Regions from separate parts of the Homo sapiens genome. Here all the other regions are linked to region 2. Evidence: promoter capture Hi-C in 16 types of primary human blood cells and fetal thymus (Javierre and others, 2016). All regions are on one chromosome and are shown on one strand. The core of a region is centred on a gene start or on the middle of the fragment in contact, and the rest is flanking DNA. Distances in the headings are between cores, read along the strand shown.

Region 1 (3,517 bases), core at 798-3,297, 640 kb before region 2:
AGGGATGACTGCATAATATTAATATATATTTTAATATATATGCTTTTAGTCACTTTAGTCTATGAGTATATACATATATGACTTTAAACACCAAAACTGCTTTCCTTGATACTCTGAAATCACCTTACCCTAAATGAATCTGAATTTAACTGTAGAGGCTTACTGTAGAAATGACTGAAGGTCTTTATCACAAAAATCCTTGCTAGAGCCACTAAAGTTATGGTCTCACTCCACAGTATTAAGCCTGCAGCTCTACCCTCCTATCACTGGCATTCACCAGTAAAACCGATCCTTTGGTTTACAGACAGTTGGCAAACTTGCAAAGCCCTAAGAATAAGATCTTTAAATAAATTATTTATTACTTAGGGAATCTCATGTTTCTTTAAATATATCCAAGTAAAGGATTCTACTGAAAGAAGAAAAAACTACACTTAGCAATGGAGAGACAAATTTTAAAGATATTGCAGGAATCTGAAAACAACGTAAAATGTTCTTGACAACAAGCTTCTGAAAGAGATGAAAATTAGAAACTTTTCATACTTTTTTAAAGTAAAAGATGTAGACTAAAGTCCATCGAGCCCAGTAGCCTATCAATTAATCATTTAAAATGCTGCATCTGAAATGACACATACTAAGAGTGAATTTTTTTTCCATAGCAACCTCCACTGAGAGTCGGCTACTTTGCAAAATAGCCTATTCTTTTCTATTTGGTTTGAAAAGTTACACAAGAAATCTCAATCAGATTTTTTTTTAAGTTCCTCCTAATAAGCAAGTGTTATACAGACAGCACAAGAGAAATGGCTTCATGAACTAAGTTTTGGGAATTATGACCAACAACAGCCTTTAACCTTTAAACTACTCTAAGGCTGGGCAGCATGGCACAGGCCTGTGGTCCCAGCGACTCAGGAGGCTGCGGCAAGAGGATCACTTGATCCCAGAAATTGGAGACCCGCCTGGACAATATAGTGAGACCTCATCTTATTAAAACAAAACAGAATTACCATAAACGTACCTTTCCAATTGGCAGTAGGTAGAACAGGACTTGAATCAAAAACCACAGGAGGTAGACCCCAAATACTCTGGTTTCCCATAACTCATACAAAGCTGGCAAAGGAGGAGGGAAATTCAGAAGACTGGGATCTTTCTGTTTACACATCAACAGCAACAGGAAGAGGAACACAGGCAGGCCAAACATGATGAGAAACACACCTGCAAACAATTCATGAACATTCGAGGCTCAAATTTCAATCTGGTTTATTTATTTAAGAATCATGTTAGATTTGTTAAGATCAGAACTCGTTATCTGGCTAACTGTCTGAAACCAATTTCTAATGTACCATCAAAAACTCCCATCTCTACCTGTCACCTCTGGTGGCCTGGCAACCATGGGCATCAAAGTAGTAAAAAAAATAAATAAATAAAAATAAAAAAAAAAAGAAAGAGGTCCAACATTGAATAGCTACACCCACCTCAGAAACCAAGCTCTAAAACATTTGACCTCCAACCACTAAGGAGCGAATGTGTTGAAACTCCAGCAAACTGAAGATCAGAACATCTAAAAATTATCAGCCTAATCTTAACAAAAAACTTTATATTCCTCAGTTTCTAACAATTAAAATAGTGTCACGTTCATGTAATGTGTGCAGATTTTAAGTGATGCTGGACAGCATCTGTAACAGGCCAGCTAGCCAAAGGTTATAACAAAATACAAAGCAATTAAGCCATGCAGGATTTTGAGCCATTTAGACAAGAAGTCTTTTCTTTTACTAGCTCATAAAATTTCATCAGTTCCACCCACTTAGTAACTCCAAAACTCTGCACACTTCAGATCTTTGACCCTCACAATCAACCCGCCTAGCAGGTAGGGCAGCCTCCGGGATCCCATTTTATGCAGGCAGCTGAGGCCCACTGCTGGCCCCTGCCGCCTCAGGTCTGACTATTAGCAGAGCTCTCTGTCCCTGATAAGTAACCATCTATGCTATACAAACTCCCAGATCAACCTTCCTTTATCACTTCTTTGTACTTCTGTGCTCAAAACCTCTGAACAGACTGCTAAAAGTTTTAAACACAGCTACAATGGCATCCTTTCTACTCCATAATCCCTCAAAATGCTCCCACCTCAAGCCTTTGCACCCACTGTTCCTTCTCTGGAAGGCTCTTCCACAGGTTCCCACCAGGCTCATTACCTTGCCTGCCTCAGATGTCTTCAGAGAGGCCTTTCCAGTTCACCTTGTGGCAACCACCCCTAGCTCACCCCACCTGCCCTCTCTGGGCCCAGCTCTGAGGCCTACCAGGTACTCCTCCAAACTCCAAGTCCTTTGCCCGGATGGGGGTCACTTCAAAGGTTCTCACTGCCAGTTCTTTTGCAACGTATTTTTCTTCCTTAGAATCTATTTCTTTTAATTTGACTTCTTCTCTTCTTGGACGAAGGCTATACTGTGTTGCTATGTAACTGCTTTCTTGTGACAAACTGAATTTTTCCTAAATGAAAAATTTAAAAATTAAATATCTGCAGTGAACAATTACCATTAATGCTACTGCATTAACTATTTCAGCATCTCAATACAGCTATACACTAGTAAGAATAAATTTGTGAAATTATATTCAGTCTTAATTTAAGGACAGAATTTTAGAACAGGTTATAAAATATTACAATTTTCAATGTGCTTCTCAAGGGAGAGTCACTTTTAACCAAAAAAAAGAAAAAAAAAAACAACCAAGATGAAAGGGAACACTTTCCCACCTGTGTATTTTTATGAGGTGCGTCATTTCTCTCAATATGCTCAGGCTCCCCATTATATCTGCTGATGCTATTTCCAAATGGCTTCTAAATTGAAGAATATAAACATTTAATCAAAAGAACTGTAACTTATTAAAAAGAAACATGATGGTAAAAACTTACTGTTTTGGAATCAAGCAATAAAACAGATTTTTCACAGCCTTAATTCTGACGAATTTAACCCTCATTTTGTTAAAAATGAAAAGGAATAAAACTGACTAGAATTTCCCAGTCTCTGAAATATTGGATAGATTTCTACATAAAATCTTTCATCTGGCCAGGCACGGTGGCTCACACCTGTAATCCCAGCACTTTGGGAGGCCAAGGCGGGTGGATCACCTGAGGTCAGGAGTTCAAGACCAGCCTGGCCAACATGGTGAAACCCTGTCTCTACTAAAAATACAAAAAAATTAGCCACGCACGGTAGCGGGCACCTGTAATTCCAGCTACTTCGGAAGCTGAGGCAGGAAAATCTCTTGAACCCGGAGACGGAGGTTGCATTGAGCCAAGACCGCGCCATTGCACTCCAGCCTGGGCAACAAGAATGAAACTCCGCCTCAAAAAAAAAAAAAACAACTTTGATCTTTCACGTAATCAGACTGAATGTCATAATTTCATTGATAGATTTTAGGGGTATTTACTATGAAAGGCAGAGAAAGTAAAAATTGGTAAATTAGTTCATTAACTGGATAAAAAACAAAAGACATTCAAAAAGACATTCACTGCTCCAAAATAGCC
Region 2 (3,166 bases), core at 508-3,007:
CCACTAGGAGGGTAACCAGTCACCTCTCCAGGTGCTTAAATACTTGAACCTACTAGAAAGAATTTGTGGCCTAACTTCATAGAGATAAATATTATTATTCCCATTTCACAAATGGACAGACAGCTGAGTTAGTTCAAATCATCTAAGATCATAATTACTCTACCTAAAATGGTCTGACCCTTGGTTAGAAATATTTTTTAAAGCCAAGAAGTAGAAGCTATTGAAAAATCCAGCATACAAAGAAAACATTACCCATGTCATTTAACATTTCTTGAAGATATGATGCATTTAACTAATGCAGAACAGCCTTCCTGGATAAATCCAACAATAAATATTTCGGTTTCCTGAAAACAAAACAAAAAACAAGCAAAATAACTCATCTTGGCTTGAATTATAGGAAATTCTTTGCTGGCAGCTCGGTCCAAGCTGATTGCATATGTGCTTTTAGGATAGGATTAGAGATTGCATGTGTTCTGCACAGCAACCATGGACACTTAACATTCATGAAATAATAATGAAACGGGAGGCCTGGATTTTTGTCTGTTTGTTTCTCCTAGGTCTCTTCCTCACTTAAGTGACCTTGGACAAATCCATTTCTTCCCTCGTATCTGATTTCCATGTATCTGTTTCGGGATAATGTTTATCACTAAGCCGCTTTGTGAGATCTTCAGATTACAAATAATTACTGCCCTTCATTTATGAAATTTTCCTCCTTCACTACCCTACGGGATATTTGCATGACCCTTCCATTGAAAACCTTTACACACAGTTGTGAAGCGTCAATACCATCTAGGGACGGTTCAGAGGTTCCAAAGCCAATCAACTGACAAGTCGTGAGGATAACTTGGGCCATGAAAAGTCCGTTTCCTATGCTACTGAGAATTGGAAAACAGGTATATGTACTAATTCCCAAACCACGTTTGCCTTCTTTCTGCCGTTTTCAGCCTCTTCTAAACTATGCAGAAGCTGCGGACATTTGACTATCTATATTCGGCAATTCCTTTCCAAAGCAATCCTACCGAAAACAGATCACACGGCCCCCACGGGCGGGCAGGACAAGCCACCAGGCCCTGGTGCAGGAGCTGCGCGCTCCACACATTGTTTAGAGGCCGACGCGACACAGCCATCTTGCGTCGGGGGCCCGGGCCCGGGAGGAGAGCGAGCCCCGTCCCCTGATCCCGGAGGCCAACACCGGCGAGGGGCTGCCCTGCACGCAGGCGGCCGGCCCAGGAGTCTTAGCGGATCAAGTTGTCTACGGCGGACTCGGGCCGGTCCCGCAGGACCCGGCCGCACTTGGCCGAGCGCGCAGGCGGGAAGGAGGCCGTCGGTCCGCCCCTCCCGCTGCCGCAGCGGCCAGGTCCGACAGCGGGCGCGGGACGCTGGATTCCTATTTGCCAGCTTCCTGCTGGGGAGCGTTTTCCAATGGGGCGCGGCGACCCGGCCGACCGCGTCCTCCTCCCCCACTGCCGCCCGGGTCTCCTCGGGGGCGCGCGCCGGGGCCCGCGCGGGGGCAGCCCCTCCCTCCCCTCCCCGCCGCGGCCCGAGACGCCCGCAGGCCGGGCGTTCACCCGCCGCGCCTCCGCCCGCCTTCCCCTCCCCCCACTTCCCTCCGGGCGCCCCAAACCCGGGCTTCGGGGGTTCGACGCCGTGCGCACACGGAGCGGGATGGGAGTGCAGGGCCGGGGGCGGGGGCTGGCCGGGTGCGGGCGGCAGTCTCGGCGGGAGCCGGCGGCCCCTCAGCGTGTCTTTTGTGTTTGTACACACACGGCGCGAGGCGGCCTGGAGGAGGGAGCGGGCGGCGCGCGGGGGAGGGGCGAGCGCGCGCCAGCGAACGGGCGCGCGGGGGGAAGGGCGGGGGCGGGGCGCGAGAGGAGCTATGGGGGCGGGGCCGAGCCTTCCCTCCATTGTGTGTGATTGGCTGGCGCGCGGCGCGGGGGCGGGGCGGCGTGTGTTGGGGGATAGCCTCGGTGTCAGCCATCTTTCAATTGTGTTCGCAGCCGCCGCCGCGCCGCCGTCGCTCTCCAACGCCAGCGCCGCCTCTCGCTCGCCGAGCTCCAGCCGAAGGAGAAGGGGGGTAAGTTTCCCCGTCTGCCCGCTTCCCCGGAACCGAGCCCCGCTTGCCGTCAGCCCCGAGCCGGGCCCTGGCGGTGCCGGGAGGGGACCCATAGCCCCTCCGGCTTAGCCCACAAACTTTTTGGCCCAGAAATGGAGGTGAGGAGCGAGTTTCCCTGTTCCCTCTGGCGGCGGCGGCTCCCCCGTCTCTCGCCGCCTCAGCCCAACAGCAGCAACCGCCGCGGCGCCGAGCCTGCTCTCCCTCCTCCTCCCCGCGCCCCTGGCTCCTCTTTCTTCGGTGAAATCCCGCCCGCCGCCCCTTCCCCGGACCCCAAACCTTCACCATGACCCGCGCGGGCCTCTTAACTACCGCCCCCGGGCCCCAGCCCCCAGTTTTCGAGCGGGAAAGGGGTGGAAATCGCCGCCGCTTCGCACCCTGGGGTAACTCGCTTTTTGCTGCCTCCCCACAGTTGTTGCTAAGCTTCACCATCTTGTCTCTCTTCTCTGGTCACCGACCATATTTTTTCCCCCGTTTCTCTCTTCCCCATTTCAAAAAAGCAAGAATTTTTAAAAGAGGGACGTTTTTTTCCCTTTTTTGGAGAGGCGGAAACTTGATGCATTTGAAATGCAAAAAAAACTTTTGCATTTTGGAGGGCGGCACGTGGCAGGGGATAGGGGTATTTTCGAGCGATTTGGTGTTTTGTCTCTTTGGAACGGAATCGGATACGTTTTGCGATTGTTTCCATTTTGTTCTGGTCGGGGAGCCGAGTTGGTTCCTGCTCGAGGCGCTGGGAGCGAGGCGGGCAGGTTGGGGGACCCTGTGCCGAGGGACCCGAAGGAGGCAAAACCAAAAGTTTATGTGGTGCTTGGGGTGGACCGGTCGGCGGATGTCGTGCGTTAATTAAAGCCTGGGTGCGGGGCACTTTTTATTTCACTGCGAAGCCTGTGAGGACTGGACGCGAGGACGGGGCTTTGTAGAATGCTCGCTGGTGGTAGCTGTTGTTCCTCTCTTGTTTTTTCGAGACGCCTTTTTGTCAACATAACTGTAAAGATGCAAAACCAAGAATATTTTCAGATATTTACAGCAATCCATCAACAGTCAGACGAAGGGGGG
Region 3 (3,189 bases), core at 584-3,083, 630 kb before region 2:
ACTATAAATAGATGAAAGAGTGTTTTCAGTAGCAGATGTGTCAATAATGTTTTAATGCGTTTGTTGTTTTTTCTCTAACCGCCTAAATCCTTTGAATCATCCTGTAGTGCACACTTCAACATAAAAGACGTAACTTCGTCTTTTCTTCCATGCTACTCTAACTGAAAAATCTAACCCGCTGGATTAATCTTAAAACTTAAAGGTCCTTGGACTGTTCAGGAAGTGATTATTATTCACATTTATTTTAATGTTTGCTAATTAATAACTGTTTTTTAAAATTCGCCTAAAATGCGTTTGGATAGGTAGAGAGTCCTGAAATATTTATCTGCAGGAAAAAAAAATCAAACTTAGTAACATGACACAGACAAGGCCTTCAAAAACTCACCCTAATGGATTTCTGGTAGGCTCAACATCCTCTTCTCTTTCCAGCACCTGCCTTCTCTTTCCCACCCCCTCCACCCTCAGTTCTACCAAATTTCTGATGAGTCCTCAGATAAGCCTTTTCCTCTCTTGTTGCTTGGAATGCCTCCCCCTTCTTTTGAGAGTGGCCTGTTCTTGCTCATCCCCAGCAAAACTTCCTAGGGCAGTCCCCACATACATCTGTCACTGCCTTCCCATGTTATGGGCATCTGCACTCCTCCCAGGCAGGAAGTATATTTAATTTCTCCTTGTATCTCTCCCCATTAAGTAAATGAATGTGTTCATCATGAAACTGTGTCATATATGTTCTCCTAAAGGTCAGAAGGTAGTAAACGCTCTTGTTCCAGTTACTGAGCTGCCACAGGCTGGACTGAGGCAAGAAGAGATAAAGCCTCCGCTGGCACTGACTGTTCCCACCGGCTGGAGAGGTGCGGAAGCCTATCTTCGGTGTCTCTCTTGCTGTCTGCCACAGGCTCACAGCCCCATGGTGGGGACTCTGCTGTGCTTAAATACCCTTTTCTCCACCTGGGTTGCCACCATCTCTCTTAATTCAGAATATGTAACTAAATGTTTCTTTTTAAAACCTACAGGGAACACAGGTGCATGGCTTGTTTTGGCATGGTTGCTAAAACTGCGAGTCCCAGAGGGCAGCCTTCTTCCCCACCTCCCACCCAAAGTCTACATTCAGAGGCAGACGGGGGCTCAATTGTGGAACAGAAAGTACCATCTAGGTAACATGTAATTACCATGTTGCTTCCCTTCTGGACAAGATAAGGCTCAGCCCATCAGTGTTAATGTTTAGCACTTCATGTCTGTTCAGCAATTGCTCCCACTCTATCAACAAAACTACACCATACCCTTTAGGAAAAGTGTGTAGCAACTACAGTTGGCATCAGAACAATGGAGAAAGAGAAGGAGAGGGAAGGGGACTCATTTCTAATGAGGCCCTGTTCTGTGTCACTTACCAGTCCTTACCTTATTTATGGCTCAAATCAACTCAACAAAATAGGCATCACCCCCTCTTTCAGGACGAGGAAACTGAGACTCAGGTCAGCAAAGTTGCAATACAGCGCACCCACCAAATTGGGGCTGGAAAAGAAATTCTAACCCAGTTCTCTGGATTCCAAAGCATATGTTCTTTCTACCCTCCAAACCCATTAGGGTCCCCAAGCAGCCTCTTAGCTCCCTTAGCCATTGACTTCCGGTCGCCACACACAATTCATATTACATGATCCCACTGTCAATGTCAGCTGGAGACATCCCAGGCTAATGAGAATATAGCTTGTGGGCGTTTTGTCTACATTTCTGGAGCAAAGAACACTCATCCCTGCTCTCTCAAAGAGCACCATGCATGTGAACTTGTCCTTGTCTCTCACCCTTTGATTCTTTCTTCCATGGCTGGTCTATTTTAATTCTGATACCTATTCTGGATTCTGTAGGACTGTCTTTATGTCTTCCTTTCCAGGGACTATCTTAGAATATTCACTTGTAGGTATGATATCAAGGGCAGGATCACTGTAATCTTTGTAGTACACTTAGTACAGTACCCAATGTGATTAAATCTGTTTAAAACACATTTAAGGGGAATAAAATATAAAATATTTGAGATGAATATTTAAAACCAAATTTGCATAATTGTTTTAAATTTTTTCATTTTACTTGAGCAAGAGGTACAACATAAAACCTATTTGGAGCACAGTAGTGTATTGAATCATTTTAGTCATAACACACACCTACATAAATGACTAAAAATATCAATATTTTATCCTTTTAAACAGATGACATATAATTGCAACGTAGATTTATTTGAAAGTTGTACAGAGTTGGCTTGATAGTTATTCAACAACTGTAAGTATTAATTGGCATGAGTATTTCAGCAGAAAAAAACTATATATTCATACTAAGTTGCTGATGATATTTTGCTTGCTTACTTTAGATACAAGAGGCTAGGATCCCAGAAATTTCACTGCTGTAGCAAAGCAAGTCATGTTACTCTGAATTGACAGTTCCCAGTCATTCTCCACGGTAAGTCATATTGCCAAACACAATGCCATTTTTAGGTCTACTTTAATCCTATTTGACTATACAGATATGGTTTTTATTTACTTAGTCCTATGGTTTGAATGTTTGTCTTCGCCAAAATTCATTTGAAATTTAGTTGGCATCGTAACAATGTTGAGAGGTGGGACCTTTAAGAGGTGATCAGGCCATGAGGGCTGCACCCTCATGGGCGGCATTACTGCCATTATAAAAGGGCAGGGTCAGCCCCCTTTCATCTCTTGGCCCTTCCACCTTCTGGCCATGGAGTGACACAGCAAGAAGGCCCTCACCAGAGGCAGGCATTTAGTGCTGTTCATTATAAATTACCTGGTCTGTGTTATTCTGTTATTCAAAAATGTCATTTCTGCAAATATATAGTTCCTCCCTTTTTAAAAAAAAGTTCTACTTCTTTTTTCTATTTTACTTTTACTGATGTTTTGTGTATTCATCTTCCTGGTCCTATAGAGAACTCCTATTGCTCCGTAAGTCAAGGCCAGAACTCCCATCCTGACCAGAAGGAAAGATGCCCAGTTCCCACATCTCCTTTGCTAGGCCTGCCAGAAGGGGGCTCCTCCTCCTGGCCAAGGCAGGCTAGTCAGATCCCTTTGTGTTCATTTTTAAAAAGAAGTGCCATATCCTTAAACATACTTCAGCTGTCCTTGTGCCTGCTGGATAATGTATGAGCTTCTGGAAAAAATTCTTCAGCACTGAACATGAATTTAACAGGAT
Region 4 (3,261 bases), core at 418-2,917, 570 kb before region 2:
AAAGCACGTGGCGCAGAGGAAACTGACACAGAACAGCACACCACTGGTGCTTTATGCAACACCACTGACCCCAAGATGGTCACTCCATTGATTTTTCCGCATTGTTTACATCCAGGATGCATGCTGTCCAGTGCAATAGCGTCTATGACTATAAAACAACTAAAAGCTGCACTTAAGATGGGAGAGCCAAACTCAGATCTTTTTTCTCCTTCTCTTCAAAGATCAAAAGAAGAATAAACCAAAAAAGATTAAAAAAAAAGAATAAACCAACCAGTAGCTGCCGAGAATACAGTGAAAGAGGAAATTCAGAACTCAACTTTATCGGGGATGGGCACGGTCGCTTATGCCTGTAATCCCAACACTTTGGGAGGCCAAGGTGGGTGGATCACCTGAGGTCAGGAGTTCGAGACCAGCCTGGCCAATACGGTGAAACCCTGTCTCTACTAAAAATACAAAAATTAGCCGGGTGTGGTGGCGCATGCCTGTAGTCCCAGCTACTAAGGAGGCTGAGGTAGGAGAATCGCTTGAACCCGGGAGGCAGAGGTTGCAGTGAGCTGAAATCACACCACTGCACTCCAGCCTGGATGACAGAGCGAGACTGTCTCGAAATAATAATAATAACAATAATAATAAAAAGCTTTATCTATCCTTGCTTGTATAGTGGCAAGGAAAAAATAAAAACAAAACAAAAAGAATTTAAAAAAAGAACTCAACTTTAGAGGTAGAAGGCTCAGAGAGAATGACTGACTAGCCCCACAGCCTGAAAACTGGTAAAGTCAGTCCCAGTCCAATGACCTGCCCACAACTCCACACACAAAAAAGGACAGACTGAGAGAGACTGAGGGCGGGAGGAACACAGAGAAAGGGAAATCAAGTCCAACAAGGTGGCAAAGACATGGACTCAATAACAATTTTTACCATGTTTTCTTTCAGAAACAAGGACATTTTATGTGAGGATCAAATATTCTCCCTTCAAAAACTTCTGCAATTGAAGGCCGAGGCGGGCAGATCACCTGAGCTCAGGAGTTCAAGACCAGCCTGGGCAACATGGTGAAACCCCATCTCTACTAAAAATACAAAAATTAGTCGGGCATGGTGGCACGCGCCTGTAGTCCCAGCTACTTGGGAGGCTGAGGCAGGAAAATCCCTTTGAACCCAGGGGGGGGAAGTTGCAGTGAGCCGAGATCGCACCACTGCACTCCAACCTGAGTGACAGAGCAACACTCCGTCAAAAATTTTTTTTTGCAATTGAAACTTAAAATGATCAAGCCCAAAGTACCTCTGGGAAGGACACCAAATTGTAAAGTCCTGACTCAGGCCTGAACCTCCCATCCCTCTAGTAATAAAGAAGAAAGGAAATGCTACCTAGATTTTAACAGGGCTTTCTTCTCAATATCTAAGCCTTCCCAATTACTTTCCTCAGATAAACTATAAGCTATTCTTCTCCTGGAAATTTAAGTGGCAAAGTCAACGTCTTTTACCAACCATCCATGGGCTATTGCTGAGTTGCGGAACTAGCCTACAGCTAACTCAAATTCATCACCTCAGACTCACTGTGATGCCCAACCACTGGCACTGGGGTGGCCTTATGACTTACGACAATCAAATGGGGTTTGTGAATCCATGGTTAAGCTAGCCTGCCACCAAGGATGGACAAACCTCAGACTTGATCAATGGGTGGAGGGAAACTCCATATTTAAAATGCCCAGTGCCTCGGTCAGCAGAACCAACCAAGTGACACCTGAGATCAACTGGTAGTAATAATGAAAAGCTGGTATTTCTCACATAAAACACGTTGAAAAACATTTATTTATTTAGAGATGGAATCTCGCTCTGTCGCCCAGGCTGGAGTACAGTGGCGCGGTCTTAGCTCACTGCAACCTCCACCTCCTGGATTCAAGCGACTCTTCTGTCTCAGCCTCCCGAAGAGCTGGGATTACAGGTGCCCACCACTATGCCCAGCCAATTTTTTTGTATTTTTAGTAGAGATGGGGTTTCATCATGTTGGCCAGGCTGGTCTCAAACTCCTGACCTCAGGTGATCTGCCCACCTCAGCCTCCCAAAGTGCTGGGATTACAGGCGTGAGCCACCATGCCCGGCCATGAAACATTTATTTTTAAAATGCCTTTAATCTTTAAAAAAAAAAATAAAAGAAAAAGAAAAAAAGAAAAGAGGTTTCACAGATGTGACTAAAGCATGGACTGTTAGGCGCTTAAGAGACCAAATTTTTAAAAGCGTTCTGTAATGTATCTCTCTTATATGGTTGCAACAATGTGTATTTTAAGTGTAAGCCAAGAACCTTTTCTCTCAGTTTCTATAGACTTGGATGGAAACTTTTGGACTTGATGGGAAAATTAACTCTCAATCTAAACACTAGCCAATGTAGACTTTTTCTTCTGAGTGCTTTTTCCTATGGAATTCAAAGTACCAACTATTCAATTCTCGATTTTCTAAGCCTTCTTAGAAGAATAACTATTTACTAAAACCCAACCAAACCAACCTATAACATCATCCATCTCCTTTATTAGTTATTTCTTTATGCTTTTAGAATTGTCATCTACTGCTGAAGAAATCTTTCTTGGAATTGAAGGGAACAGTTAAATCAGATTTACATGATAAACTATGGGTTGTCATTTGTATATAGAACTTTTACGGAATAAATGTAGTCTAACAAACTGGGCTCTCTAATGAAATATGTAAGCTTTTCTAATAATTTCTATGAAAAGCTATATTCTCTTAGAATTTTTTTTTTTTTTTTTTAGAGACAGGTTCTCGCTCTGTCACCCAGGCTGGAGTACAGTGGCATGATAACGGCTCACTGCAGCCGCGTCCTCCCTGGGCTCAGGTGATCCTCCCGCTTCAGTCTCCTGAGTAGCTGGGATTACAGGTGTGCACCACCATGCCTGGCCTAAATTTTTAAATTTTTTTGTAGAAATGAGTCTCCCTGTTACCCAGGCTGATCTCAAAACTTCTGGCCTCAAGCAATCCTCCCGCCTCTGACCAGTTTACCGAGCTATTTAGATGTCCTAACTACTAGGAATTATATGTCTTTAAAAACTGAGGAAAAAGAACAGCACTACTCAAATGGTATATTCTTTTTACTCTCAGCCACCAACTGGGGCCCCTAATTTTCTCCCTCTGCCTAGAATTCCTGTGTCCTACACCAGAAGCGTCTACGGGCCCTGCTCTCTGCTCTTTATGAGTATTTAACATGCTTCACAGAACGGGGGTGCAGCTCAGTGACTGTGATTCTTTGGTTCA

The links. Contacts are between HindIII fragments. The CHiCAGO score rates a contact against its expected background, and 5 or more counts as called.
Region 1: a fragment that was not itself captured here is called in contact with the fragment with the promoter of H3-3A-DT in region 2 in 4 of 17 cell types (neutrophils, total CD8 T cells, fetal thymus and 1 more); the score reaches 10.5 in neutrophils.
Region 3: a fragment that was not itself captured here is called in contact with the fragment with the promoter of H3-3A-DT in region 2 in 10 of 17 cell types (total CD8 T cells, fetal thymus, activated CD4 T cells and 7 more); the score reaches 10.2 in total CD8 T cells.
Region 4: a fragment that was not itself captured here is called in contact with the fragment with the promoter of H3-3A-DT in region 2 in 9 of 17 cell types (non-activated CD4 T cells, naive B cells, neutrophils and 6 more); the score reaches 7.7 in non-activated CD4 T cells.

Annotation. Positions count from the first base shown.
Region 1 is chr1:225,416,972-225,420,488 of GRCh38, forward strand. It overlaps LBR (lamin B receptor), which reads right to left. Exons shown (of 14, transcript NM_002296.4): 4 at 2,744-2,827; 5 at 2,292-2,481; 6 at 1,013-1,209. Among named protein-coding and RNA genes, the nearest start is that of LBR, 9.3 kb to the right of the region's middle. The HindIII fragment of the contact is 3,091 bases long and covers 503-3,517 here.
Region 2 is chr1:226,060,738-226,063,903 of GRCh38, forward strand. H3-3A-DT (H3-3A divergent transcript) reads right to left here and starts at 1,758. Exons shown (of 2, transcript NR_185887.1): 1 at 253-1,758. H3-3A (H3.3 histone A) reads left to right here and starts at 1,979. Exons shown (of 4, transcript NM_002107.7): 1 at 1,979-2,074. RefSeq lists silencers at 1,098-1,947, 1,534-1,699, 2,318-2,387. The HindIII fragment of the contact is 4,693 bases long and covers 1-2,531 here.
Region 3 is chr1:225,435,198-225,438,386 of GRCh38, forward strand. No RefSeq gene overlaps it. Among named protein-coding and RNA genes, the nearest start is that of LBR, 8.8 kb to the left of the region's middle. RefSeq lists enhancers at 733-782, 853-1,012. The HindIII fragment of the contact is 6,515 bases long and covers 1-3,189 here.
Region 4 is chr1:225,489,342-225,492,602 of GRCh38, forward strand. ENAH (ENAH actin regulator) reads right to left here. Exons shown (of 14, transcript NM_018212.6): 14 at 1-3,261. Among named protein-coding and RNA genes, the nearest start is that of LINC02765, 23 kb to the left of the region's middle. The HindIII fragment of the contact is 2,064 bases long and covers 636-2,699 here.